Linked DNA regions of Homo sapiens: all the other regions are linked to region 1. The links are contacts of gene promoters, found by promoter capture Hi-C in blood cells and fetal thymus (Javierre and others, 2016). All regions are on one chromosome and are shown on one strand. The core of a region is centred on a gene start or on the middle of the fragment in contact, and the rest is flanking DNA. Distances in the headings are between cores, read along the strand shown. Region 1 holds the start of PSMG3 (proteasome assembly chaperone 3). Region 2 overlaps BRAT1 (BRCA1 associated ATM activator 1). Region 3 overlaps MAD1L1 (mitotic arrest deficient 1 like 1). Region 4 overlaps CHST12 (carbohydrate sulfotransferase 12). Region 5 holds the start of NUDT1 (nudix hydrolase 1). Region 6 overlaps EIF3B (eukaryotic translation initiation factor 3 subunit B). Region 7 has its middle 9.4 kb from the start of SNX8.

Evidence for each region. The method cuts DNA at HindIII sites, captures the fragments that hold promoters and counts their contacts. A CHiCAGO score of 5 or more calls a contact.
Region 2: a fragment that was not itself captured here is called in contact with the fragment with the promoter of PSMG3 in region 1 in 1 of 17 cell types (total CD8 T cells); the score reaches 5.0 in total CD8 T cells.
Region 3: a fragment that was not itself captured here is called in contact with the fragment with the promoter of PSMG3 in region 1 in 8 of 17 cell types (M1 macrophages, M0 macrophages, M2 macrophages and 5 more); the score reaches 12.1 in M1 macrophages.
Region 4: a fragment that was not itself captured here is called in contact with the fragment with the promoter of PSMG3 in region 1 in 1 of 17 cell types (non-activated CD4 T cells); the score reaches 5.4 in non-activated CD4 T cells.
Region 5: the fragment with the promoter of NUDT1 here is called in contact with the fragment with the promoter of PSMG3 in region 1 in 5 of 17 cell types (fetal thymus, M1 macrophages, M0 macrophages and 2 more); the score reaches 8.9 in fetal thymus.
Region 6: a contact is called between a fragment that was not itself captured here and the fragment with the promoter of PSMG3 in region 1, in 1 of 17 cell types (naive CD4 T cells). The highest score is 6.8, in naive CD4 T cells.
Region 7: a fragment that was not itself captured here is called in contact with the fragment with the promoter of PSMG3 in region 1 in 1 of 17 cell types (total CD8 T cells); the score reaches 5.0 in total CD8 T cells.

What each region holds. Positions count from the first base shown.
Region 1 is chr7:1,568,202-1,571,978 of GRCh38, forward strand. PSMG3 (proteasome assembly chaperone 3) reads right to left here and starts at 1,831. Exons shown (of 2, transcript NM_032302.4): 1 at 923-1,831. The coding sequence starts at 1,138. It overlaps PSMG3-AS1 (PSMG3 antisense RNA 1), which reads left to right and starts at 1,872. Exons shown (of 5, transcript NR_027329.1): 1 at 1,872-2,078. RefSeq lists silencers at 1,503-1,932, 2,373-2,452 and enhancers at 1,561-2,129, 2,753-2,822, 2,833-2,882. The HindIII fragment of the contact is 7,479 bases long and covers 1-3,777 here.
Region 2 is chr7:2,548,269-2,551,739 of GRCh38, forward strand. The region is part of intron 2 of BRAT1 (BRCA1 associated ATM activator 1); the gene reads right to left. It also overlaps the pseudogene LOC124901849. Among named protein-coding and RNA genes, the nearest start is that of BRAT1, 5.5 kb to the right of the region's middle. The HindIII fragment of the contact is 1,051 bases long and covers 1,270-2,320 here.
Region 3 is chr7:2,189,519-2,192,996 of GRCh38, forward strand. The region is part of intron 10 of MAD1L1 (mitotic arrest deficient 1 like 1); the gene reads right to left. Among named protein-coding and RNA genes, the nearest start is that of MAD1L1, 42 kb to the right of the region's middle. The HindIII fragment of the contact is 2,545 bases long and covers 892-3,436 here.
Region 4 is chr7:2,410,083-2,414,040 of GRCh38, forward strand. All of the region lies in intron 1 of CHST12 (carbohydrate sulfotransferase 12), which reads left to right. Among named protein-coding and RNA genes, the nearest start is that of CHST12, 8.5 kb to the left of the region's middle. The HindIII fragment of the contact is 9,344 bases long and covers 1-3,958 here.
Region 5 is chr7:2,239,881-2,243,506 of GRCh38, forward strand. NUDT1 (nudix hydrolase 1) reads left to right here and starts at 2,346. Exons shown (of 4, transcript NM_002452.4): 1 at 2,346-2,376. MRM2 (mitochondrial rRNA methyltransferase 2) reads right to left here and starts at 2,325. Exons shown (of 3, transcript NM_013393.3): 1 at 2,282-2,325. The coding sequence starts at 2,289. RefSeq lists an enhancer at 858-1,709 and a silencer at 2,032-2,251. The HindIII fragment of the contact is 10,591 bases long and covers 1,788-3,626 here.
Region 6 is chr7:2,371,861-2,375,315 of GRCh38, forward strand. It overlaps EIF3B (eukaryotic translation initiation factor 3 subunit B), which reads left to right. Exons shown (of 19, transcript NM_001037283.2): 12 at 813-935; 13 at 2,668-2,746. Among named protein-coding and RNA genes, the nearest start is that of EIF3B, 19 kb to the left of the region's middle. The HindIII fragment of the contact is 1,983 bases long and covers 1,203-3,185 here.
Region 7 is chr7:2,321,916-2,325,829 of GRCh38, forward strand. It overlaps a transcript of SNX8 not described here. Among named protein-coding and RNA genes, the nearest start is that of SNX8, 9.4 kb to the left of the region's middle. The HindIII fragment of the contact is 3,424 bases long and covers 1-3,422 here.

The DNA.
Region 1 (3,777 bases), core at 581-3,080:
ACGTAATGTACCATGGCAGGGGAGGCGGCTCGAATGACAAAACTGCTGCTTCTGCTTGTCTGCTGGATAAAATGCCTGCGGGCTGGACAAAGCATCCACTGAGGGCAAGCAGGGCGCCTTGAGACCCACAAATGCCCGGAAAATGCTATCGCTGTAGGGGTATTTGTCCGCCAGATGCCCCATGTCCTTACTGACAAATCACAGCCACTGGAGAGGTTTATGCTCCTCCCTGGGGGTCCCTTCCTGACCACTTTATTATTATTATTATTATTATTATTATTAAAGACAGAGTCTTGCTCTCTCACCCAGGCTGGAGCGCAGTGGCACAATCATGGCTCACTGCAGCCTCAACCTCCAGGGCTCAAGCCATCCTCCCACCTCAGCCTCCCAAGTAGCTGGGAGCACAGGCACACACCACTAGGCCCAGCTAATTTTTTGTTTCCTTTTCTTTTCCTTTTTTTTTTAAGACCAAGTCTCTATCTGTTACCCAGGCTGGAGTGCTGTGGCACGATCTTAGCTCACTGCAACCTCCGCCTCTCGGGTTCAAGCGATTCTTCTGCCTCAGCCTCCTGAGTAGCTGAGATTACAGGCATGTGCCACCACACCCAGCTAATTTTTATATTTTTCGTAGAAATGGGGTTTCCCCATGTTGGCCAGGCTGGTCTGGAACTTCTGACCTTAAGTGATCTGCCCGCCTCAGCCTCCCAAAGTGCTGGGATTACAGGTGTGAGCCACTGCACCCAGCCTCTCTCTATATATATATTTTGTGTAGGCACTTGTTTTTTTGTAGTGACTTGTGTGTGTGTTGTTGTGTTGCCCAGGCTGGTTTCAAACTCCTGGCCTCAAGCGATCTGCCCGCCTAGGCCTCTGAAAGTGCTAGGGTTACAGGCGTGAGCCACAGTTCCCGGCCAATCCACTTTACCTCATCCTGCCCCAGAAGGACTTTTGTGGTGAGCACAGGCTTGCTGACGTCACTGGCCACGCTGCTGGGCTCCAGGGAGACCAGGGTGCCCATCTTCCCAAACTGGGTCACCACCACCAGGATGTGACTGCTGAAGGCCGTACACACCACCTGGGTGGGGACCCCGCACACCACCTCCGTCTTCTGCTTCGATATCACCAACGGCGTGTCTTCCATGGCGGGGCTCTGCAGTGGCAGCTTTAATTTAGGTTAAAAAGAAAGGGGAAAAAAAGGAGTCAATCAAACAGTACAGCCTTGGGGCTCCCAAAAAAGTAGCACGGGGCATTGAAACGGAAACGCAAGGAGGCCCATTCAAAAGAAGGGGCCAGGCGCGGTGGCTCATGCCTGTCATCCCGGCACTTTGGGAGGCCGAGACAGGACGATCGTTGAGGCCAGGAATTCGAGACCAGCCTGGCCAACATAGCGAGACCCCCATCTCTACCAAAAAAAAAAAAAAAAAAAACCAGCAGGGCGCGCCTGTGGTCCCAGTTACTCAGGAGGCTGAGGCGGGAAGATCGCTTCAGCCCGGGAGGTCGAGGCTGCGGTGAGCCGTGATCACACCATTGCATTACAACCCGGGCGGTAGAGCGAGACCCTGTCCGTAAAAAAATAAAACAGAAGCAGGAGCGGGGCCGCCCATAGAGACCGCGCCTGGGGCTTTCTGGGTTAGGGGATCGACTTGCACGTTCACACTGCCAGGCCGGGCAGTGGCTTCCCGCCCCTCGGCCTCGCCGCCGCCCCGGCCCTGCAGCCGCGGCCCGGGACCCCCACGACACGCGGTGCCGAGGCCGGCCGGGCTACTGGGGACGCAGCCGCCCGGGGAAGCCCGCGGGTACCCGCGCTCACCAAGCCGGCGCCGCGCCCGGAAGTGGCTCTGCGTGCGCCACGCGGGCCCGCCCCGTCCGCGGGTTCCGTCCACCTTCCGGAAGTCAGGGCCGCGGCGCTTCTGGTCCCGGAGACTTGGGGCTCCCGGGCTTCTGAGCGGCTCGGGTTCCGCGCTGCCGGCAGGGCTTGGGGGCGCCTTAGAGCCGAACCCCGTTTTTTCAGGAAAGGGCGCTGCGACCACCCCCGTCCCGGGCCTCAGCCCCTCTGCTGCAGACCCTCGGGATCGTCGCTGGTAGGAGCTCTGTCCCCCGTGTCTGTGTCCAGGACCCCCGAAGCGCCGCGCCTAGGAACCCCCTAGCGCTGGGAGCCCGGCCCTGCTCGACCACGGGCTTTGGGCTGGAGGCGTCATCGTCGCCACAGCGAACGCTTATTTGGCACCGAGTGTCCGCCAGGCATCGCTCTAAGCGCTTTATACCCATAACTCACTTCATCTCAGCCACCCGGTTCCGTAGAAGCGTTTCATCCGCGTTTTACAGACGTGTGCAGGTGCAGAGAGCTCGGCCAGGCTCAGGCGGCGGGCGGGCTGGGGTGGGCTCCGACCGTCCCTCGGGCGCTCCGTGACACGAAGCCCCGGCCAAGGCCAAGAAGGGGGCCAGCCCCACCCTGAAGCGGGATGAGTTCTGGTTCCTCCCAGGGACCCCCTCACTCCCTACTGCTCACTCTCAGTTTCTCCAAGCTGGAAGGTTTTTTGTTTTGTTTTGTTTGAGACGGAGTCTTGCTGTGTCACCCAGGCTGGAGTGCAGTGGCGCGATCTCGGCTCACTGCAGCCTCCGCCTCCCTGGTTCAAGCAATTCTCCTGCCTCAGCCTCCTGTGTAGCTGGGATTACAGGCGTGCGCCACCAGGCCCGGCTAACTTTTTAAATTTTTAGTAGAGATGGGGTTTCACCATGTCGGTCAGGCTGGTCTTGAACTCCTGACCTCAGGTGATCTGCCTTCCTCGGCCTCCCAAAGTGCTGGGATTACAGGCGTGAGCCACCGCGCCCCGCTGCTGGAAGTTTTATTGGTAGGGTCGGACATCTTGGTAGCAGAGGCTGAAAGTGATTGGAGCCTCCAGAGCCTTCCTCGGGGTGGGGCGTTTAACATCCCTTCAGAACCCCACCCTCGGAGGCCTTACTGTCGTTTCCTGACAACCATGTCAAGGCCGTATTTTCTGTCTATATTACCAGAAAGGGGTCCCGATCCAGACCCCAAGAGAGAATTGAGGGCGAGTCCACAAAGTGAAAGCAAGTTTATTAGAAAAGTAAAGGAATTGAGGCAGGAAAACAGGGTCTGGAGGCAGGGAACACTTCAGCTATGACAGGAAATACCCTCTCCATAGGGTGTACACTGAGTAAATGATTTTGTAACTTTATTTCATCCTCTTTATTTACATAGGGCGTACACCAAGTAACCAGTAGAAACCCCTAGAGGGTATTTAAACCTCACAAGTTCTGTAATGGGGCCCTGAGCCTCTATGCTTTGGCCGCCCCCACACCATGGAATGTACTTTCATTTTCAAAAAATTTCTGCTTTTGTTGCTTCATTCTTTTTTTGCTTTGTGCATTTTTTTTTTTTTGAGACAGAGTCTCTGTTGTCCATGCTGGAGTGCAGTGGCGTGATCCTCACTGCAACCTCTGCCTCCCGGGTTCAAGCAATTCTCCTGCCTCAGCCTCCTGAGTAGCTGAGATTACAGACGTGCGTCACCATGCCCGGCTAACTTTTGTGTTTTTAGTAGAGACGAGGTTTCGCCATGTTGGCCAGGCTGGTCTTGAACTCCTGACCTCAGGTGATCTGCCCGCCTCGGCCTCCCAAAGTGCTGGGATTATAGGTGTGAGCCACCGCGCCCGGTGGCTTTGTGCATTTTGTCCAATTCTTTGTTCAAGATGCCAAGAACCTGGACACCCTCCACCAGTAACAGAATAAAGAATGGCTACTCCATAGGCAGAGCAGCA
Region 2 (3,471 bases), core at 545-3,044, 980 kb after region 1:
GACATTTTGAGGCAAAGGTTGGGAGAGTTTCCCAGTGAGAAGCCCCTGTGGAAAGAATGTGGTTCAGTAAGGAGAGTGAGGAGCATGCAGAGGAGGAGAACCAGGCCAGGACCCAAAAAGCACTATGTCCACCTGAATCAGCACTGCAGGCTGGGTGAGGTGCTCATACCTGTAGTCCCAGCACTTTGGGAGGCCAAGGCAGGAGAACAACATAGCAAGACCCTGTCTCTACAAAAAATAAAAAAAAATTAGCCCGGCATGGTGGCACACATCTGCAGTCCCAGCTACTCAGGAGGCTGAGACGGGAGGATTGCTTGAGCCCAGGAGTTCGAGGCTGCAGCAAGCTATCACTGCACCACTGTACTCCAGCCTGGGCGACAGAGGGAGACCCTGTCTCTCTAAAAAAAAAAAAGGCGGGGCGTGGTGGCTCACGCCTGTAATCCCAGCACTTTTGAAGGCCAAGGCAGGCAGATCACGAGGTCAGGAGATTGAGACCATCCTGGCAAACATGGTGAATGAAACCCTGTCTCTACTAAAATATAAAAAATTAGCCAGGCATGGTGGCGGGCGCCTGTGGTCCCAGCTATTTGGGAGGCTGAGGCAGGAGAACTGCTTGAACTCGGGAGGTGGAGGTTGCGGTGAGCCGAGATCGCACCACTGCACTCCAGCCTGGTGACAGGGCAAGACTCTGTCTCAAAAACAAACAAACAAACAAACAAAAAACAATGCCACTGAGTTCAAAATCTAAAAAATCATTGTTGAAGGGTTTTGAAACAAAACAGAATTAAAATACTAACGACAATAATAGAAGGTTGTGATGGCCTGAAGTTCAAGTGCTCTGAGGTCCTTCGGTTGCCTGGATAGAGAATGGAAAGTCTAATTAACTTCAGACTTTTTAAAAAATCCGGTTCTCATGTTAAAAATATAAGGGTAGCCACTGAAGAACACAAATAAGCCTGTGGTCCCAGCATCTTGAGAGGCCGAGGTGGGCAGATTGCCTGAGCCCAGGAGTTTTAAGACCAGCTTGGGCAACACAGGAAGATCCCCTCTCTATAAAAATTCGCTGGGCATGGTGGCGCGCATCTATAGTCCCAGCTACACTGGAAGCTGAGATGGGAAGATCACCTGAGCCCAGGAGGTCAAGGCTGCAGTGAGCCGTGATTACACCACTGTCCTGGACAACAGCACAAGAACTTGTCTAAAAAGAAGAACATAAATAGAATGTATAACTTCAAAACCAGAAGAGGAAAGATTTAAAAGAAAAAAAAAAGCTTTATCAATCTGATGGAGGGCAGAAAAGGAGGATAAAGGCACAAAGGTAAGGCACAGGAAATTAAAAAATACAAAAGAATTCAAATCTAACAGTCGCCTCAACAAATTAAAGAGATCAAACTTATCTGTTAAAAGAAAGAGTTGCTGAGATTAAATTAAACACTAAAAACAAGCAATGTGGTGTTTCTAAAAGCAATAAAATGCAACGACAGGAAAGGCTGGGAGCAGGAGAGAAAAGACACAGTAGGCAAATTCTAACTTTAAAGAAGCTGATGTAGCAACAGAAATAGCAAACAAAATGGGCTGTAAAGCAAAAAGCAGTATTCATGCAGAAGTAAGTTAACTGATCACGGAGATAAATTCCAGAAAGACACAACATTCCTACATCTATGTATACCTAACCTCACTTCAAAACGTGTAAAGCAGCCTGGGCAACGTGGTGAAACCCCGTCTCCGCAAAAAAATACAAAAAATTAGCTGGGTGTGGTGGTGTGTCCCTGTAGTCCCAGCCATCCAGGAGGCTGGGGTGGGAGGATCACTTGAGCCCAGGAAGTTGAGGCTACAGTGAGCCGTGATCACACCACTGCACTCTAGCCTGAGTGACAGAGTGAGACCCTGTCTCCAAAAAAAAAAGAAAAAAAAAATGCCAGGCACAGTGCCTCACACCTGTAATTGCAGCGATTTGAGAGGCCAAGGCGGGCAGACTGCTTGAGCCCAGGAGTTTGAGACCAGCCTGGGCTACATAGTGAAACCCCGTCACTACAAAAAATACAAAAACTTAGCCGGGCGTGGTGGCGGGCTCCTGTGGTCCCAGCTATTAGGGAGGCTGAGGTGAGAGAATCATCTGAGCCCAAGAAGTCGAGGCTGCAGTGAACCGAGATCATGCCACTGCACTCCAGCCTGGGCAATAGAGCAAGACTCCATCTCAAAAAAAAAAAAACAAAAAAAAAAAAAGAAAGAAAAGAAAAAGAAAAAAATAATATGTAAAGCGAAAAAAAAAAAAAGGATGCATCTCAAAGAAAAATCATGAATCCATGATCTTGGTGTAAGCTTTTTACACACCTCTCAGAAACAAGCAAACAAATTAGCAAGAACATAGCAGGTCTGAACTAATGAACGAGTGTGGAAACTACACTCTTTCCATCAAGTACAATGCAGGAGAAATGACAGAGGCTGGGAGGGAGGAGGAAACAGGGACTCACTGTGAACCCAGACTCGGTTTCTTTAGGGGGAACAAAATTAGATTGTGCTGATGATTTCAGAGCCCTGTAAATTTACTAAGAACTGTTGAATTGGTACCATTTATTTATTTATTTTGTCCATTTCTCATGTCAGACGGGTCACGTACCGACATCATACCAGGGTTCCATGGTGCCACATCTCACACATGCGCCTGAACACTCAATTATCATGCTTAGGTTGGGTGCAGTGGCTCTCCACTGTAACCCCAGCACTTTGGGAGGCCAAGGTGGAGGGATCACCTGAGGTCAGGAGTTCGAGACCAGCCTGGCCAACATGATGAAATCCCACCTCTACTAAAAATACAAAAATTGGCCGGGCATGGTGGCATGCACCTTTAATCGCAGGTACTCAGGAGGCTGAGGCAGGAGAATCGTTTGAAACCCAGGAGGCGGAGGTTGCAGTGAGCCAAGATTGTGCCATTGCACCCCAGCCTGGGCAACAGAGCAAGACTTGGTCTCAAAAAAAAAAAAATCTATATCTATATATATATCTATATATAGATATATATATATCTCATGCTTACAAACTGTAAAAGGATCTGGTACACCTTAAATGGGAGAATGGCATGGTATGCAAATTATATCTCAATAAAGCTACTGAAAAATACTTCTTAAAATTTAAATACAGGCCAGGCATGGTGGCTCGCTCCTGTAATCCCAGCACTTTGGGAAGCCCAGGCGGGAAGACTGCTTGAGCCCAGGAGTTCCAAGCTGGCCTGGACAAGATGGTGAGACCTCATCTCTATGGGAAAAAAAAAAATAGCTGGGCCTGGTACACACCTTGATCCCAGGAACTCAAGAGAATGAGGCAGGCGGACTGCCCAGGAGGTCAAGGCTGCAGTGAGCCGTGTTCACGCCATTGCACTCCATCCTGGGTGACGCGCAAAAACCCTGGCTCAAAAAAAAAAAAAAAGAAAAAGAAAAACTGACTACTACAAACTAGGCCACAGTTGAAGAC
Region 3 (3,478 bases), core at 914-3,413, 620 kb after region 1:
ATGTTAAGTGAAATAAGCCAGTCACATAAGGACAAATATTTCATGATTCTCCTTCTATGAGGTCCCTACTGTAGTAAAAAATCACAGAGGCAGGAAGCAGAATGGTGGGTCCTAGAGCCAACGGGGGAGCACAGGGAGCGAGCGTTTAATGGGTACAGAGTTTGGCTTTGGGAAGATAAAGTTTTGGAGGTGGATGGTGGTGATGGTTGCACAGCAATATGAATGTTCTTAAAGCTACTGAACTGTACACTTAAAAACAGTTAACAGTCAATTTTATTGTATATGTATTTGACCCAATACAACAAATCGGGGAAAAGAAAAGCATCCTCCTCAACCTGATGAACAGTATCTCGCAAGACCCTAAAACTAACCTCATGCTTCAGGAAAATCTAAACGCTTTCCCTCTAAGGCTGACAAGGCCAGGACAGCCATTCTCACCATGCCCAGGTAAAACTGCACTGGAGGTCCCAGTGAGTGCACTAAGGCAAGAAAAAATAAACGAAATAAAAAGTAAATGGGGGGAAAGAAAACAAACTGAAAGCTAAATCTAAAATTTATCTGAAAATAAAAAAACTAAAATAGCCAAGACAATTCTTACAAAGAAAAAGCTGGAGGGCTTACTATGTTCTTTCAAAGAGTATTAGGAAGTGACAGTAATTACGACCTTACCATACTGGAGAAAGGACAGACACATGATTCAATGAAAGAAGACCTCGAGCAAAGGCCCATGAATGTATGGCTGACAGGCTTTCATCAGAGGTGCCAAGGAAATTCAAATGGGAAACAGACATACGTATTGTGGGGCAGGAAAGCGACCCTCAACTGTGACCACACTACACACAAAAATTAACTCAAAATTAACAGTAAAGTTAAAGCTAGAAAGTTTCTAAAAGCTTGGGTTAGGCAGATACAAAAAACACAAACCATAAAGAAAATGAATTGATAAATCAGACTTAGCAAAATTAAAAGTTTTTACCCTTCAAAAGACACTAAGAAAATGAAAAGGAAGCCACGTACCGGGAGAAAATATTCACCATACATCTGACAAAAGACTCTGTCATGAATATATATAGTACTCTGCCAACTCAGAAGATGACAGTCCAATTAAAAAATGGGGAAAAGACTTTGAAAAGACACTTCACAAAAGAAGATATATGGCCGTCAAGTTAAGTACATGAGTAGATGTTCAACATCATTAGTCACCAGGGCAACAGGAATGAAGGCCACAAGGAAATACCGCACACACCCACCAGGATGGCTAAAGTGAAGGTGGCCAATGAATGCATTCGGGATGCGGGGCCAGCGGAATTCAATGAAAGAGCTCGGGATGTGGGGCCAGCGGAATTCTCACACACGGGTGGCCAGGGGACAGAATTAGGCAGCCACTTTGGCTCATCAGCTTTTTCTAAAATTAAAACATACCATATCACCCAGAGGCCCCACTCCTAGGTATTATCCCAAGAGACAGGAAAACATACATAAAGAGACTTCAATACAAATGTTCACAGAATCTTTATCTGCAAGAGCAAAAAACCGGATTAAAAATTATGGTATATCCGTTCGATATAACAAGGACAACCGATACAAGCAACAAATGTGAATGAATGCTTTTCAGAAAACATTCTGCCAGTGAAATCACCAGACACAAATGACTGCATGACGTATGATTCCATTCCCACATAATTCCAGACGAAACAAAACCACGGTGACAGCCAGACTGAGGGCAAGTACGCTGGGAGCCTGTTACCTCCACCTGCCACTAGGAAGTCGCAACAGGCAGCATGAGTCCAGACACAATAGCAAACAGCCCTCCTGGAAAAGTGGGATTTCTCAAAGAACAGGAACATGGCCCTTTGGAAATTTCTTGTTTATTTCACCTAATGGTCATTTAGAGTTTGTTTTTACTTTTTTAATAATACAAATGTATCTAAAACTAGGGTGGAGGCTAACACCTGTAATCCCACCATTTTGGGAGGCTGAGGCAGGCGGATCACTTGAGCTCAGGAGTTCGAGACCAGTCTGGCCAACATGGTGAAACCCCGTCTCTACTAAAAATACAAAAATTAGCTGGGCGTGGTGGCAAGTGTCTGTAGTCCCACCTGCTCCAGAGGCTCAGGTGGGAGAATGGCTTGAGCCCAGGAGGCAGAGACTGCAGTAAGCCATGATTGTGCCACTACACTCCAGCCTGGGCCACAAAGCAAGACTCTGTCTCAAAAAAATTAAAAAAAATTAAGCCGGGTGCGGTGTCTCACGCCTGTAATCCCAGCACTTTGGGAGACCAAGACAGGCGGATCATGAGGTCAGGAGTTCGAGATCAGCCTGGCCAACATGGTGAAACTTCGTCTCTACTAAAAATACAAAAACTAGCCGGGCGCAGTGGCAGGCACCTGTAATCTCAGCTACTCGGGAGGCTGAGGCGGAAGAATTGCTTGAACCCGGCTGGCAGAGGTTGCAGTGAGCTGAGATCGCGTCACTGCACTCCAGCCTGGGTGACAGAGCGAGCCTCTGTCTCGATAAAAAAAAAAATACATAAAATAAAACTTAAAATTAAAAACTAAAATTAAATCAGGGTGGAGGTAGCACGTTAAATATAAATCCATGGGGTTTTTTGTTTTTTTTGTTTTTTTTTGAGATGGAGTTTTGTCCTGATTGCCCAGGCTGGAGTGTAATGGCATGATCTCGGCTCACTGCAATCTCTACCTCCTGGGTTCAAGCGATTCTCCTGCCTCAGCCTCCCAAGTCATTGGGATTACAGGCACATGCCACCACGCCCAGCTAATTTTTGTTATTTTTAGTAGAGACAGGGTTTCACCATGTTTGCCAGGCTGGTCTCGAACTTCTGACCTCAGGTGATCCACCCACCTCGGCCTCCCAAACTGCTGGGATAACAGGCGTGAGCCACCACACCCGGCCAAATCTGCGTTTTAAGCTGACAGGGAAGACACACCAGCAGCTATGATCGTGCATGCTCCTCTTCCATCTTCCGAAAGACAAGAGCTCTGAGTATTGAAAAACAATTCAGGAAAACTATCAGCCACCTAAGCCGGTAAAGCAGCAAAGATGAGAATGAAAGTGTGACTATGCCCCAGGCTCCTAGGGAACTGATTCTCCACAGAGTAAAGTTTTTTAAAAAATTCTAAGGAAGGGCGGGGAGAAGGGTGGTGTTTCTCCCCACCTCCCTCATGCTCCTAAACTAACGTCATGCCCCAAGGAAACGAGAGAAAAGGATGTCATTAATAAATTTATACCAAGTTTCTTTTCAATGGTGCTGAAAAGTATATGCAAATCCATCTGTAATTAGGTTTAAAATTCCATTTCATGGGATAATCAGACTTCAAAAAACTCAATTTTAGTTTTAATCAGATTTTAACAAGGATATTAAGTCCATTTCGTTTAGAAAAGGAAAAAACTGTGAACTTAACACAAAATGTATTCAAGCTTAGCCCTGGGAGATAATTAAATAAAATTAATTTGGCAA
Region 4 (3,958 bases), core at 985-3,484, 840 kb after region 1:
AGCGCTTTCTTTCGTCGTTTTCCAAGGGGGTTTTAAAACATACCGACCAGTAGAGAGAGCAGTATTATACATCATCCTTCACCTGTCCCCAAGTTTCAGAAATTAGGCAATCAGAGTTTGTCTGGTTTTTGTTAGAACATCACCTCTTTCTTGAGCAAGTACTGAGTGCCAGATGCTACTGTAAGCCTTGAGAATACCCGCTGTGAGGCAGGACGAGGACCTCCCTTTTAAGTCAGTGCAGGAAGACAGTGAGTGGATTAACTGGTGTATATGAGCTATTTGAGGCCAGGCATGGTGGCTCACGCCTGTAATCCTGACATTTTGGGAGGCTGAGGCAGGAGGATGGCTTGAGCCCAGCAGTTCAGGGATTCTGCGATTGCACCACTGCACTCCAGCCTGGGTGACACAGTGAGACACTACTCTAAAAATAATAAATAAAAGATTTGAGGTAGGGATGGGATAAATGCTGCTATGAAGAAAACCAGGGTATGGGGAGTGCAGGGTAGAGACTGGGATCTACTTTCTCAGGGTGGTTAGGGAAGGCTTGCTGAGGAGGTGAGCGTCAAGCAGAGATCTGAAGGAAGCGTGGGACTGCCCTGGGATTCCCCAGCTGAGGGATGGTGGTGCAGAGGCCCAGCAGCAGGAGCCTGCTGGGTGCGGTGGATGAACGGCAAGGAGACTGTTGAGGCTGGAGAGGGTCGCCGAGGGGGACTGTGATAGAAGAGGAGATCAGTGGAGTCCTGGTCACGGGCCATCAGAAGGACTCGAGATAGGAAGCCACTGATCCAACTTTTAATAGAATAACCGTGGCTTTGGGGTTGAAAATGGATTGTGTGGGCCTGAGAGCAGAAGCAGGGAGACTGGTTTGGAGCCTGTTGCAATAACGCAGGTGAGAGCTGATGGTGATTGGGGCAGGGTGGGGTGTAGGTAGGGCAGAGGGGACTTGACAAGTTAGAGCCTGGATAACTATTTACTTTTTTAAATTATTTATTTATTTATTTTTAAATTTTGAGATGAGATCTCACTCTGTCATCCAGGCTGGAGGGCTGGAGTACAGTGGTGTGATCATAGTTCACTGCAGCCTCAGCCTCCTGGGCTTAAGAGATCCTCCCACCTCAGCCTCCTGAGTAGCTGGGACTACAGGTGTATACTACCATACCTGGCTAATTTTTAAATTTTTGTACAGATGGCTTCTTGGTATGTTGCGCAAGCTGATCTTGAACTCCTGGTCTCAAAATATTATCCTGCCTTGGCCACCTAAAGTGTTGGGATTACAGGCATCAGCCACTGCACCTGGCTGAGCCTGGATATATTTTGCATGTAAAGCCCCAAGCAGGTTCTTAAACTGATCATAGTGAGATTTATTATCATTTTCTTCTGAAATAATTTCTTTGAGTTAACTTAACTCTTTTTTTTTTTTTTTTTTGAGACGGAGTCTCACTGTTGGCCAGGCTGGAGTGCAGTGGGGCAATCTTGACTCACTGCAACCTCCACCTCCTGGGTTCAAGCAATTGTCTCTGCCTCAGCCTCTCAAGTAGCTGGGATGATAGGTGCCAGCCACCACACCCAGCTACTTTTTGTATTTAGTAGAGACAGGGTTTTGCCATGTTGGCCAGGCTGGTCTCCTGACCTCAGGTGATCCACCCAGCTTGGCTTCCCAAAGTGCTGGGATTACAGGCGTGAGCCACTGTGCCCAGCCACGAATTGATTTAACTCTTAAGTCAGTTGAGTCAAGTGAGTTATCGTTTGGATTCTAGAGTCAAATACCTATGCAACAAATATTTGAGCCTTATGAGGAATACAGAAGGTACATGAGATATGATCCCTGTCTTCTAAGAACTTGAAACCCAGTTTGGGAATATTGGACTGGTATACGTGCGTGGATTTCCTGTCTACCTGGGAAGGGCCAACAGAGGGCTTAGAGACGGGAAGGAAGAGAACAGGGTGAGCTGATAGCCTCTGTGCTCTAGGACCGGCTCTGCAGGGAAGTTACTTTACTTCAAAGGCTAAGTTTGGGCTCAGTTTTCATTCAGGTCTCCTGGGATATAAATCAACATTCCATTCTCATCAATGTGACCGTTAATTACATATTTTTATTTGGATATACTGTCAGATATAGTTAACTGAACACAAATGAAGTAATTGTATAAGCAAATAAACCATAGTCCTGGAGGTACCGCGTGAAAATGTGTCTCACGATGGAGGTTTTAATGTAGTACCACTGTGTGTAAGTTCCAGGCAGCCCAGGACATGCAGAGAGCAAATATTGACACCAGGAACAGAAACTTTCCACATTTTTGTTGACTACAGCGATGGGAACTGCAGTGAATTATTTGCCTTATATAGTGTCTGTAAAGCTGGAAAAGAAGTAGGTAGTTTCTGGTCTTTGTGTCAGTAGCATAAATAAATAAACTTGAAACATTCTTGCGCTTCTTATTGAAGGTCATGTCACTTGATTTAGTGCTCAAGAGCTTGGTTATTTGGACACGAAGAAGCTACTTCCCTCAGCAGTAAAGGAAATAGAAATTTGACTGTCTAGTGAAACCTACCAATTCTGCCTAAACATATACTGTAGAGGCCAGCAGAGCAGAGTGGCAAGGAAGGGGGGCTCTCCAACAACAGCCTGAGTTCTGAGGCCAGCTCTAAACACTGCTAGCTATGTAGACTTGTGCAAGTCTGTAGCTACTTTTCCCAGTTTCATCCCAGTTCATGTGAGGATTAAACAAAGTAATATGTGCAAAGCCCTTAGAACATCACTTTTAACAACATGTTAGCTATTGGTATTGTTATTTTAAAATCAATTTGCAAATAGACAGTTTTTTTTTTTTTGACTTGATAACTGGCTCTTGGTAGAAAGCATGAGTAATAATAAAAATAACACATATTTGTGTAACAAATATTTGAGCCTGATGAAGACAGAGAGATAAGTAAGGCCGGGGCAGATTCTAAAGAAAGTGCTTTACTATTTTATCAACCACTTAGCTGTGTTTTCTCATTTTTGTGCTCTCGGTAGCTCTGGTTAGCAGAAAGGCCTAGTTTGTTCTTCTTTTGTAGATGGACTGAAAGTCAGACATAAAATGACTTGGCCCAGGCCACTCAGCAGAGGCCGGACTTGGTCTCAGTATCCCTTCCCTCTTCCTCCCAGTCCCTCCGTGTCTGTGCGGAACTCTGCACTGGTGTTTTCTTCTGTACTGTGGAAATTGGTGAGAGCTGGGCCATTGCATTCATATTAGAGAGAGAAGTGTTAGCCTCTGGAGATCAGCTTCATAAAACCACAAACATTTTCTTTTTAACTTTAAATCAAATGTATTGAGTATGATTTACATGCAATAAAACGTACCCATTTTAAGTATGCAGTTTGAGGAACGTGGCCAAACATATTCACCTTGTACCTGCCTCTGCAATCAAACAGTAGAGCATTTCCATCGCCCCGAGTTTCTGCGTGCTCCTCTGCAGTCTATGATTTTCATCACGATTTTGGCCTCTTTTAAATGTCATATAAATGGAACCACAGAACATGCAGTCTTTTACGTCTGGCTCCTTTTTCAGTGTGCGACCTGTGGCGTTCACCCATGAATCAGCACTTCACCCTTTTTACACTCACTTGCTGATGTACATTGGGGTTGTTTTCAGGTTTTAGCTTTTTTTTTTTTTTTTTTTTTTTGAGACAGAGTCTCCCTCTGTCGCCCAGGCTGGAGTGCAGTGGCGTGATCTTGGCTCACTGCAACCTCTGCCTCCTGGGTTCAAGTGATTCTCCTGCCTCAGCCTCCCGAGTAGCTGGGATCACAGGCACCCACCACCACACCCAGCTAATTTTTGTATTTTTAGTAGAGATGGGGTTTCACCATGTTGGCCAGGCTGGTCTTGAACTTCTGACCTCAGGTGATCCACCCACCTCGGCCTCCCAAAGTGCTGGGATTACGGGCATGAGCCACCACGCCCGGCCAGTTATCTCATT
Region 5 (3,626 bases), core at 1,096-3,595, 670 kb after region 1:
GTGTCCCCGCAAAATTAATGTGTTGATGTCCTAACCCTTGGTACCTCAGAATATGGGGGTATTCGGAGACACCTGTAATTCCAGCACTTTTGGAGGCCAAGACAGGTGGATCCCCTGAGGTCAGGATTTCGAGACCAGCCTGGCCAACCGTGGCCAACATGATGAAACCCCGTCTCTACTAAAATGCAAAAATTAGCCTGGCGTGGTGGCAGATGCCTATAAACCCAGCTACTCGGGAGGCTGAAGCAGGAGAATCGCCTGAACCCAGGAGGCAGAGGTTGCAGTGAGCCGAGATTGCGCCACTGCACTCCAGCCTGGGCGACAGAGCGAGACTCTGTCTCAAACAATAACTAAATACATCAATTAATTAATTAAAGTAATATTATTTTCTCATCTGGCAAAAATGTTCATTGGGCTCTGACAGGCTGCAAGAAAACCTCATAAGGACAGATCCTTGCCTTAGTGACCTAGTTCCAGGGCTTTGACAGCTAGTACAGAGGGTCTGGCCTGTCACATTTCTTTTTTTCTTCTTTTTTTCGAGACAGGGTCTCGCTCTATAGCCCAGGCTGGAGTGCAGTGGTGAGGTCACGGTTCAACGCAGATTCGAACTCCTGGGCTCAAACAATCCTCTCACCTACATGTCTTAAATAAAATTGAACTAAACCTGTGTCAATCGTTGAAGGACAATTTCCAAGATTCTCTAGACAATTGTTACAATAAATGTAACAATTTATTCACAGCCCACAATAGCTAAGCAGGTGGAAGCTATACACACCTCCCCTTGTTTAACTCTGACAACAACCTCACCAAGGAAGTTCTATGTCCTCTTTTTCTTTTTTTAAGACGGAGTCTCACTCTGGCGCCCAGGCTGGAGTGCAGTGACAGCTCACTGCAGCCTCCGACTCCCGGGTTCAAGCAATTCTCCTGCCCCAGCCTCCCAAGTAGCTGGGATTACAGGCACACCTGCTACCATGTCCGGCTAATGTTTGTATTTTCAGTATAGATGGGTTCCACCATGTTGGCCAGGCTGGTCTCAAACTCCTGACCTCCGCTGATCTGCCCGCCTTGGCCTCCCAAAGTGCTGGGATTACAGGTGTAAGCCACTGCACCCAGGCATTTCTTTCTTCTTTTTGTTTTTTTAGAGACAGGGTTTTACTATTACCCAGGCTGGAGTGCAGTGGCATGATCACAGCTGACTGCAGCCACAGCCTCTGGGGCTCAAGTGAACCTCCCACCTCAGCCTCCTGAGTAGCTGAGACTACAGGTGTGTGCCACCACTTCCGGCTAATTTTTCTATTTTCAGTAGAGATGGGATTTCACCATGTTGGCCGAGCTGGTCTCGAACTCCTGACCTCTGGCGATCAGCCCACCTTGGCCTCCCAAAGTGCTGGGATTACAGGCGTGAACCACCTCACCCGGCCATTTTTGTTTTGCTATCATCCAGGCTGGAGTTGCAGTGGCACAATCACAGCTGATTGCTGCCATAACCTCTGGGTCTCAAGTGAACCTCCCACCTCAGCCTCCTGAGTAGCTGGGACTACAGGTGTGCACCACCATGCCTGGGCTAATTTTTTTTTTTTTTTTAATTCTTAAAAACCTTTTTTAGAGATGGCATCTCACTACATTGCCTAGGCTGGTCTCGAACTCCTAGGCTCAAACGATCCTCCTGCCTCAGACTTCCAAAGTGCTGGGATGACAGGTGTGGGCCACCAAGCCCGGTCTCTATGTCCATCTTTCTGATTTAAATAAATAAATAAAAGTTACCACCCTCATGGCTCCAAGGCCAAAGCTTCTAGCTTCTGCAACACCAAAGCGTGCTGACAAGCCAGGAGGCACTGACTGCTGACCGTGAGTCGCTGTCTTCCCCTCGCTTAAGGGGTCTCCCGGGAAAATGGCACAAGCCGGTCCCGGGGGCCAGGGCCCACTCGACAGCCCAGGAAGCGCGGGCAATGGAGCTACCCGGCCCAGAAGCGAAATCCCGCCCCGGGCTCGCCCCCGGCGCCTTGGATCTGGGCCCCGGCGCTGCGCCCCCCACCTGGACTCCGCCGCCGGCCCCGGCCTCCCCACGGCCCCGCCGGCCCTGCCCCTGGAGACCTGAGGGCGCCCTCCTCCCGGGGAACTGCGACCCGGAATCCTGGCCTCGCCCCTGTCGCGCTCGCTGAGTGCGGGGACGGTGCCCAGCGCTCGGCACCCAGCCCCGAGGCCAGGACCGAGGAAGGCGACCGGGCGGACCCCCAACCACTCCCGCTGTCTGCACGCGCAGCAGCAGCGCCCAGCTCACCCCGCCATTGGTGTTCCCCGCGCCTGCAGCGCGCCGCCGGAAGTGCCTGGCCTCACTTCCGGTCAGAGGCCACGCCCCCGGAAGCGGCGGTGCAGGTACGAAAAGCGCGCGCGGGGATTCCAGGAGTCGTGGTGACCAGGGAGGGGAGCCGGGCCAGCGGGCGGCAGGAGACTAGGGGAGCTGAGCCATGGGCTTGGGGGAGAGCGGGGCCGGGAGCTCGAAGGAGACCAGAAGAGCAGGGTCGGGGGCTCGAGGGAGACGAGGAGAGCGGGGCCGGGGGTTTGGGAGAGAGACAAGGAGAGCGGGGCGGAGGCTTGGGGGAGACCAGGAGTAAATCACAAAAATTTACTTTGGAAACCGTGGCTTCTGGCAGAAACAGATCAGTGTCGGGACAAAGTACACGGGCCTGGTGTGAAACTAAGCCACAAACCCATTTACCCTGTCTGACCTGCCTCCGCCACCAGGACCCAGTCTCAGTGAAATGGGAAAGGTTCCCTTGTCCTCCTCGAAGGGCGTGCGATGAGGATGTGGCTCACTTCTTCAGTGCCCCGCTTCTCAAGCCTCTAGGGGAACATACAGACAGGCAGGCTGAGGGGCTCCCACCCCACGGCAGTGTCTAGGGGTGAATGTTTGCAGCTCCTGAAGCCCCAGCAGGCATGTGTTAGAGGGTGCTCTTTCAGTTTAGCCTTGTAGGTGGCTTGTGTTAGTCAGCTGTTAGACTCCCTGCCTTATCGCAAGGACAGAGGGCTTTCTGTATCCCTAGGTTTCTTGCCTTGATGTACTGGAGCAATCAGATCACACGGCGGCTTGGAGAGTGAGTGCAAGGTTTTATGAGTGGAATTAGCCCTCAGCAGATGGGGGAGCCAGAAGGCAGTTGGAGTGGGAAGGTGATTTTCCCCTGGAGTCGGGCTGCTGAGCAGCCTGGGCTCTCCTCTGACCGCCCCTGCCAAACTCATGGTTCCATCAGTTGATGGCCTGCTGGTGCCTGTTGGTGTGCTTTCCACGTCCTCTTGACGTCCAGCGGCTTGTGTCTCTGCCCACTATAAAAAACCACTGGGGTTTTTTTATAGGCACAGGACGGGGACGTGGCGGGCTCGGGAAATGCAACATTTGGGCAAAAAAACAGAAATGCCTGTCCTCACCCAGGTCCCTGGGCACAGGCCTGGGTGTGGAGCCCTGGCCAGAGACCACGCCCTCCTCTACCCAGCACTTCCCTGCCCCCTTCCTTATCATCTGGTCCCTTTTCTCAGACACCACAACTTCCAAGAAGGATCACTGGTCCTGAACCCTGTGTCTTGTCCAGGTGTGGACCCCAGAAAAGTTGGTCCTGGCTGGGCGCAGTGGC
Region 6 (3,455 bases), core at 944-3,443, 800 kb after region 1:
TTTAGTCACTTTGAGGCGAATGGGGCCTACGTGCTGTTTTACTCTTGGCTTTAACACTTCCATGCGAGGGGTTGTCTGAGCAGCTGAGTCAGGACTGTGAGCCCTCACCATGAATAGTCATCTCCAGGTCACAGAACGTGTTTAGAGCCTGGGCAACATAGTGAGACCCTCTCTGTACAAAAAACAAATAAAAAAAATTAGCCAGGTGTGGTGGTGCGCACCGATAGTCCCAGCTGTTTGAGACGCTGAAGCGGGAGGATCACTTGAGCCCAGGAGCAGAGGTTGCAGTGAACTGAGATTGCGCCCCTGCACTCCAGCCTGGGTGACGGAGCAAGACCCTGTCTAAAAAAAAGAGAAAAGAGATTGAGCCTGTGTTCTTGTTTGGCTTTTTGTTTTGCCATGGAGAAAAGGAGGAAGGAAGGGTTAAAAATAGGTGAGAAAATGGGAAACATGGCCGCCCTTCCAGGCAGGGAGACCGGAGGTCAGGATCCCACTGTAGGTGCACACTGGGTGCGAGGGAAGCGGCATCCACAGCTGCTGACAATGTCGGGCTCCTGCGGTCCTGCTGTGGGTGTCCTGCTCTCAGGAAGGGAGCAGTTTCACGTAGGTCACTCCACACAAGTGGAAGCAGCTGTCTCTGAAACTCCAGGAATGTGCACCTTTCCTGCTGTTGCTTGCTCTCCCGTCCTTTTAATGAACTTTTACACGTCGGGGGATATTTCTCTGTGGTTGAATAGTGAACATTTTAACTGATCAAGAGCACTATGTTCTGAATTGACCAAAAAGGGAGGGGTCTGTTTTGTGCATTTTAGAAACCATCATAGCCTTTGCCTGGGAACCAAATGGAAGTAAGTTTGCTGTGCTGCACGGAGAGGCTCCGCGGATATCTGTGTCTTTCTACCACGTCAAAAACAACGGGAAGATTGAACTCATCAGTAAGTAACCTGGTCCCTTTCCTCTTCTGAGTAGGTCAGCACAGATGATGACCCAGTCGCTGCCCAACAGTGAGCATTTGACTGGCCTAGGACCACTGCTGGGCAGGCCGGGACTCGCCTATGAATGGGGTGTGGCCTCGGCTGATGGAAGTGAGCGATGGCCTGGAGGTGCCGCCTCCTTGCAGGGTGTCTCTCTGAGCCCCGTTGAGCCCTCACGTTTAAGCGAGTATTTCCAAGGCTTCCATTCTCTGCCATCATCTCAAGTGAAGCTTTTTCTCTTCTGGCTGTAGCTGCTGTCCCTGGGCTTGGGGTCACTTCCTGTGGACATACTCCTGCCAGTCCCCAGTCTGGGTCAGGTGCCTTTGACCAGGGTGCGCAGAGCTGTTGCACACAGCTGTACTCTGCCCCCGTGCACCCGGTTCCAGGGGTGCCACACTGCACCCACCTGGGGCTCGCTCCTCACAGTGGTGCGTGGGCCCTCGCCTGTCTCACGGCACCTGCTGCCTGTGCCCTCAGCTCCTCACTTCATCCTGGGGTCTCTGCTCAGCACAGAGCCCGGTGCCCGCGGGGATTGAATGAGCCATTGCTTGTTGCTTCATAGGCGTGGGGTGTGTGTGTGTGGTAGCCAGGAGGTGGCGATGGGCTGTGTTCCTCACACAGGACTCTGGCTGCCAGCTGCCCTCCTGCAGAGCCATGGGTTTGGCTCTGTACCAGGAAGGGGTTGGAATCTCCTGGCCGCACCTTTCGCAGCATGATTCTGTGAGGAGTTTAGTTTTCACTTTGCTAGAGCTTGGCAGGGTGCGTGGTGCCCTCAGTTGGCAGTGGATTACAAGATTGGCTGTTTCATTAATTCTGGTTGATAGAAACATATGGGCAATTGCAGACTGTCCAGAGACTTGTGTAAGTCTTCTAGGTCATAAAACATAGGCAAGCAGAGGCACCTTGTACCTTCCAAACATGCTGCGTGACACGCCTCTCCTGAGGTTTGGCATGGACGCTGGGGCCACCGCATGGGCTCCATCCCATGCCCGTGGCTGTTGGGGTTTTCGCTTGTGCAAGTCTGAGACCCCTGCCCCTGCCAGGGTGCACTGCCCTCCCACATCTCCTCCCCTCCTCCCCACGTCAGCCTGCCCCATGCCTCTTTTTTGGATGTACCACAGGCTGAGGGGAGAGAGGCCACAGGTTGTCAGCTCTGTTTGAGATGCAGGGAGCATATGCTCTGAGGGGGACTTGAGCCAGCCCCAGCTGGCCTTCACTTCTCACTGTTCCAGCGGCTCTGCCCGAGATCCATTCCGGAAGTAAGAGTTAGTACCTGCAAAGATGATGACTGTAGTCAGTTTCAACAAGCATACAGCTTATCCAAAGACGCCTTGTCGCTAGGAGAGTGGCTTTGGTCTTTTGGGGTCACACGTCTCTGACATCTCTCTGTTGGGGTCCCTGCAGCAGTGAACATTTGCTGTAAAGGGAATTCTTTGTCCAGTTACCTCAGGAAATAAGATAGTATTGTTTTGAAATACCCCTGTCGCATCTTCTTTTTTTTCCCATTTAAAGTATGGATCATGACTTAGGGGGTACTTGGCGATGGACTTTGTAAAATTGTTTTCCGAGGTGGTCCAGCATTACCAGCTCTGCCCTCATGGGCAGCATGAGCACGGCCAAGTCCTCCAGCCTTGGCTGCCCCGGCACTGTGGAAGCCCTCGCAGCTCGTGACAGGCGCGCTCTTTCCTTTCAGAGATGTTCGACAAGCAGCAGGCGAACACCATCTTCTGGAGCCCCCAAGGACAGTTCGTGGTGTTGGCGGGCCTGAGGAGGTAGGTGTCTGCGCTCTGAGCCTGTCCGCCCTGTGAGTAGCGCTCTGCTGTGGCAGAGACCCCTCAGGCGCCTGCACCCGGCTTCTTGGTAGAGAGAGTATTGTGCGCTGAAAGGGTTGCCCCAGTGTCAGTGGATAGGACTTCATTGAACCTCTGCAGACCCACGGTACTCCAGGACTCAGGCCAAGCCCGCACAGAGTGAAATAAGCGCTCCCAGATGCTTTCGTGAAGTGACCAGGCAGACCTGTCTGCGGGTTGTGGTTCTCTGTGGTTAAACAAGTGCCTTCCAGCCATCCAGTAACCTCCCCCCGGGGGTCAGTCCCTTGTCTTCTAGTGGGAAGGGTATTCGTTACACAGCTGTGAGGCTGCCTTACCTTTGTGGTTGGTGTCACGGTGTCGGTCTCAGCTGTGTTCCAGCAGTGTGTCGAAATCATGGAGAAGCTTCCAGCTTTCTGCTCTGAGTTAAAAGAATACCCTTTTGTTGCTGCTCTCCCTTGCTTCATTGTCCACACTTGCTACTGTATTTTTGGAGGCTTACTTAGCCTCAGATAACATTTCCAGTAAAAATAATATGATGGCAGTCATATGTAATACTCACTGCACACTCTGCATCTGTGATTTGGTAAGTCTCACAGCGGCCACCAGAGGCTGTTGCTGTGCTTGTTTCCATGTTAACGCCGAGGCTGGCTCCCTGGGGACCCCATGCCGC
Region 7 (3,914 bases), core at 461-2,960, 750 kb after region 1:
CTTTCACCATATTGGCCAAACTGGTCTCGAACTCCTGGCCTCAGGTGATCTGCCGCCTAAGCCTCCCAAAGTGCTGGGATTATAGGCGTGAGCCACTGCGCCCGGCCTCGAATTTCTCAATTCTAAAACATTTTGCTTAGTAGCAAGAACCCAGTTATATCACGATGGTTAATCTGTTTTTTTGATTCACATGTAGTGCTTTTCATTTAGGAAAATGGGAACTAGCTGGGCAAATGGACAGAACTTAGCATGCAGAGCATCGGAGTCAGAATTTAACTACACAGGAGGACGTGCAGAAAGGACCTGCTAAGGACCTTTCAGAAACAGTTACTAAAATGCTGGTGTGGTGGCTCACGCCTATAATTGCAGTGCTTTGGGAGGCCAAGGCAGGAGAAGTGCTTCAGTCCAGGAGGTGGAAGCTACAGTGAGCTATGATTGTGCCACCGTATTCCAGCCTGGGCCACAGAGCAAGACCCCATCACTTAAAAATAAATGCTGGCTGGGCGCCGTGGCTCACACCTGTAATCCCAGCACTTTGGGAGGCCAAGGCGGGTGGATCACCTGAGGTCAGGGGTTCGAGATCAGCCTGGCTAACATGATGAAACCCCATCTCTACTAAAAATACAAAATTAACTTGGTGTGGTGGCGCACGCCTGTAATCCCAGCTACTCGGGAGGCTGAGGCAGGAGAATCGCTTGAACCCAGGAGGTGGATGTTGCAGTGAGCCATAATCGCGCCACTGCACTCCAGCCTGGGTGACAGATTGAGACTCCATCTCAAAAGTAAAATAAAATAGAATAAAATAAAATAAATGCTGTAGGCCAGGTGCTATGGGTCACGCCTGTAATCCCAGCACTTTGGGAGGCTGAAGTATGTGGATCACCTGTGGCCAGGAGTTCAAGACCAGCCTGGGCAACATGGTGAAACCCTGTCTCTACTAAAAATAAAAAAAAAATCCGGGCGTGGTGGTGGGCACCTGTTATCCCAGCTACTCGGGAAGCTGAAGCAAGAGAATTACTTGAACCTGGGAGGCAGAGGTTGCAGTAAGCCGAGATCTTGCTGCTGCACTCCAGCCTGGGCAACAGAACAAGACTCTGTCTCTAAATAAATAAATAAATAAATAAATGGTGTGGGCCAGGCATGGTGGCTTACACCTGTAATCCCAGCACTTTGGGAGGCCAAGGCCAGTGGATCATCTGAGGTCAGGAGTTCTAGACCAGCCCGGCCAATACGGTGAAACCCCATTCCTACTAAAAATACAAAAATTAGCTGGACATGATGGCAGGTGCCTGTAATCCCATCTGCTCGGGAAGCTGAGGCATGAAAATCGCTTGAACTTTGGGGGTGGAGGTTGCAGTGAGCTGAGATTGTGCCACTGCCCTCCAGCCAGGGCGACAGAGTGAGAGTCTGTCTCAAAAAAAAAAAAAAAAAAAACAACCAAACAAACAAAAAAACTAATAATGGGTAATGCATTGTTTAGCGTATCTTAGAAATACTAATAATGGCTAATGAGTTGTTTAGGATAGGCTATATCATGCTGCAGTAACAATCTCAAATCCCAGAGGCTTAAAGTCACAAAGGGGTTCATGTCTGTCACCGGCATGCAGAGACCCAGGATCACAGAGCGGCCACCATCCTGCATTTCTGCCATGTTAACAGAGAGAAAGGATCTGGAGGATGCTGCAGGAGCCGCTAAATGATATGGCCCAGAAGTAAGACTCATTGCTGTTCACAACGCATTGGCCAGGACCAGTGATGTGGTCTCGCTCAACCTCAGAAGGACCAGAAGTGCAGTACTACCACGTGCCTGGCACGCCAGAAGCCAGGACAGCACCAAACACTAACCACGCTAACACGTATTGAATGCGTACTAGGAACTGAGTCTTCTTGGTTTTTTGTTTTTGTTTTGAGACCGACTCTTGCTCTGTTGCCCAGGCTTGAGTGCAGTGGCACCATCTCGGCTCACTGCAACCTCAGGTGGATCACCTGAGATCAAGAGTTCGAGACCAGCCTAGCCAACATGGTAAAACCCCGTCTCTACTAAAAATACAAAAATAAGCTGGGCATGGTGGTGCATGCTTCTAGTCCCAGCTACTTGGGAGGCTGAGGCAGGATAATCGCTTGAACCTGGGAGGCAGAGGTTGCAGTGAGCTGAGATCACGCCACTGTACTCCAGCCTGGGGTGGCAAGGGCAAGACTCCATCTCAAAAAAAAAAGAATTTATAAAAAAAGAATGTATCTCATCCTGGCCGGGGGCAGTGGCTCACGTCTGTAATCATAGCACTTTGAGAGGCCAAGGCAGGAGGGTTACTTGAGCCCAGGAATTCAAAACCAGCCTGGGCAACGTAGTGACACCCCATCTCTATTTTCTTTCTTTCTTTTTTTTTTTTTTTGAGACAGAGTTTCACTGTGTCGTCCAGGCTAGAGTGCAGTGGTGTGATCTTGGCTCACTACAACCTCCACCTCCCAGGTTCAAACAATTCTCCTGCCTCAGCCTCCCAAGTAGCTGGGATTACAGGCATGCGCCACCACGCCTGGCTAATTTTTTGTATTTTAGTAGAGACAGGGTTTCACCATGTTGCCCAGGGTGGTCTCGAACTCCTGAGCTCAGGCAATCTGCCCACCTCAGCCTCCTAAAGTGCTAGGATTACAAGAGTGAGCCACTGTGACTGACCTATTTTTCAAAAAAATAAAAATAAAAATAAACTAAGAATAAAAAAAATTTAGGAAGTGGTATGATCAGTACTTTGCAGGCAACCAAGACCAGAAAAGTTCAACACCCTAAGATCCCAGAGCTGAGATCCTAGCCTAGGCTGCAAGACACCATTCTCACAACCCTTGTGGGCATTTGCCCTGTGTTATAAAGCTACCAATTTCTTCTCAACACTCTTCCTTTTTTTAATTTTTTGAGACAGGGTCTTGCTATCACACCCAGGCCGGAGTGCAGTGGTAGGATCATGGCTCACTGCAGCCTCCGTCTCCTGGGTACAAGAGATCCTCCTTCCTCAGCCTGCTGCGTAGCTGGGACTGCAGGCATTGGCCATGTAGCCAGGCATGGTGGCACACGCCTGTAGTCCCAGCTACAGGCTATTTATTTTTTGTAGAATGGTGTCTCACTGTATTGCCCAGGCCAGTCTCAAGGACAGTCTCAAGCTATCCTCCTGACTTGGCCTCCCAAAGTGCCAGGATTACAGGCATGAGCCACCATGCCTGGCCCACTGCTTTTATAAAAAAATTTTTTTAGAGACAGAGTTTTGCTCTCTTGACTAGGCTAGGGCACAGTGGTGCAATCAGAGCTCACTGCAGCATTAATCTCCTGGGCTCAAGCAATCTTCCTGCCCCAGCCTCCCAAAGTGCTGGGACTGTAGGCATGCACCATCACGCCAGCGGCAGTGGAAAAGTTTTGAGGTGGATACAGAAAAAGCTTAGGTTTCCTGGAATTGGTTGTTACTAGAAATAGGGAAGTTAAAAACTCTGCTAGTGAGGACTTTTAGAAGGAAATGAGGAACGTGGTATAGAAAACCTAAATCATCTGGGAGGATGCCTAAATGGTCACAAACAGACTCTTGGTAACAATACAGACGTTAAAGGTGCTGCTGATGAGGGCTCAGAATGTAATGAGGAATATCAGGCCAGGTGGGGTGGCTCATGCCTGTAATCTCAGCACTTTGGGAGGCTGAGGTGGGCGGATTGCTTGAGCTCAGGAATTTGAGACCAGCTTGGGCAACATGGCAAAACCCCGTCTCTACAAAATATATATACAAAAAATTAGCTGGGTGTGTTGGCAAGCGCCTGTAGTCCCAGCTACTCAGGAGCTGAGGCATGAGAATTGCTTGAACTTGGGAGGCGGAGACTGCAGTGAGCCAAGATCGTGCCACTGCACCCCAGCCTCGGCAACAGAGCAAGACTCTGTC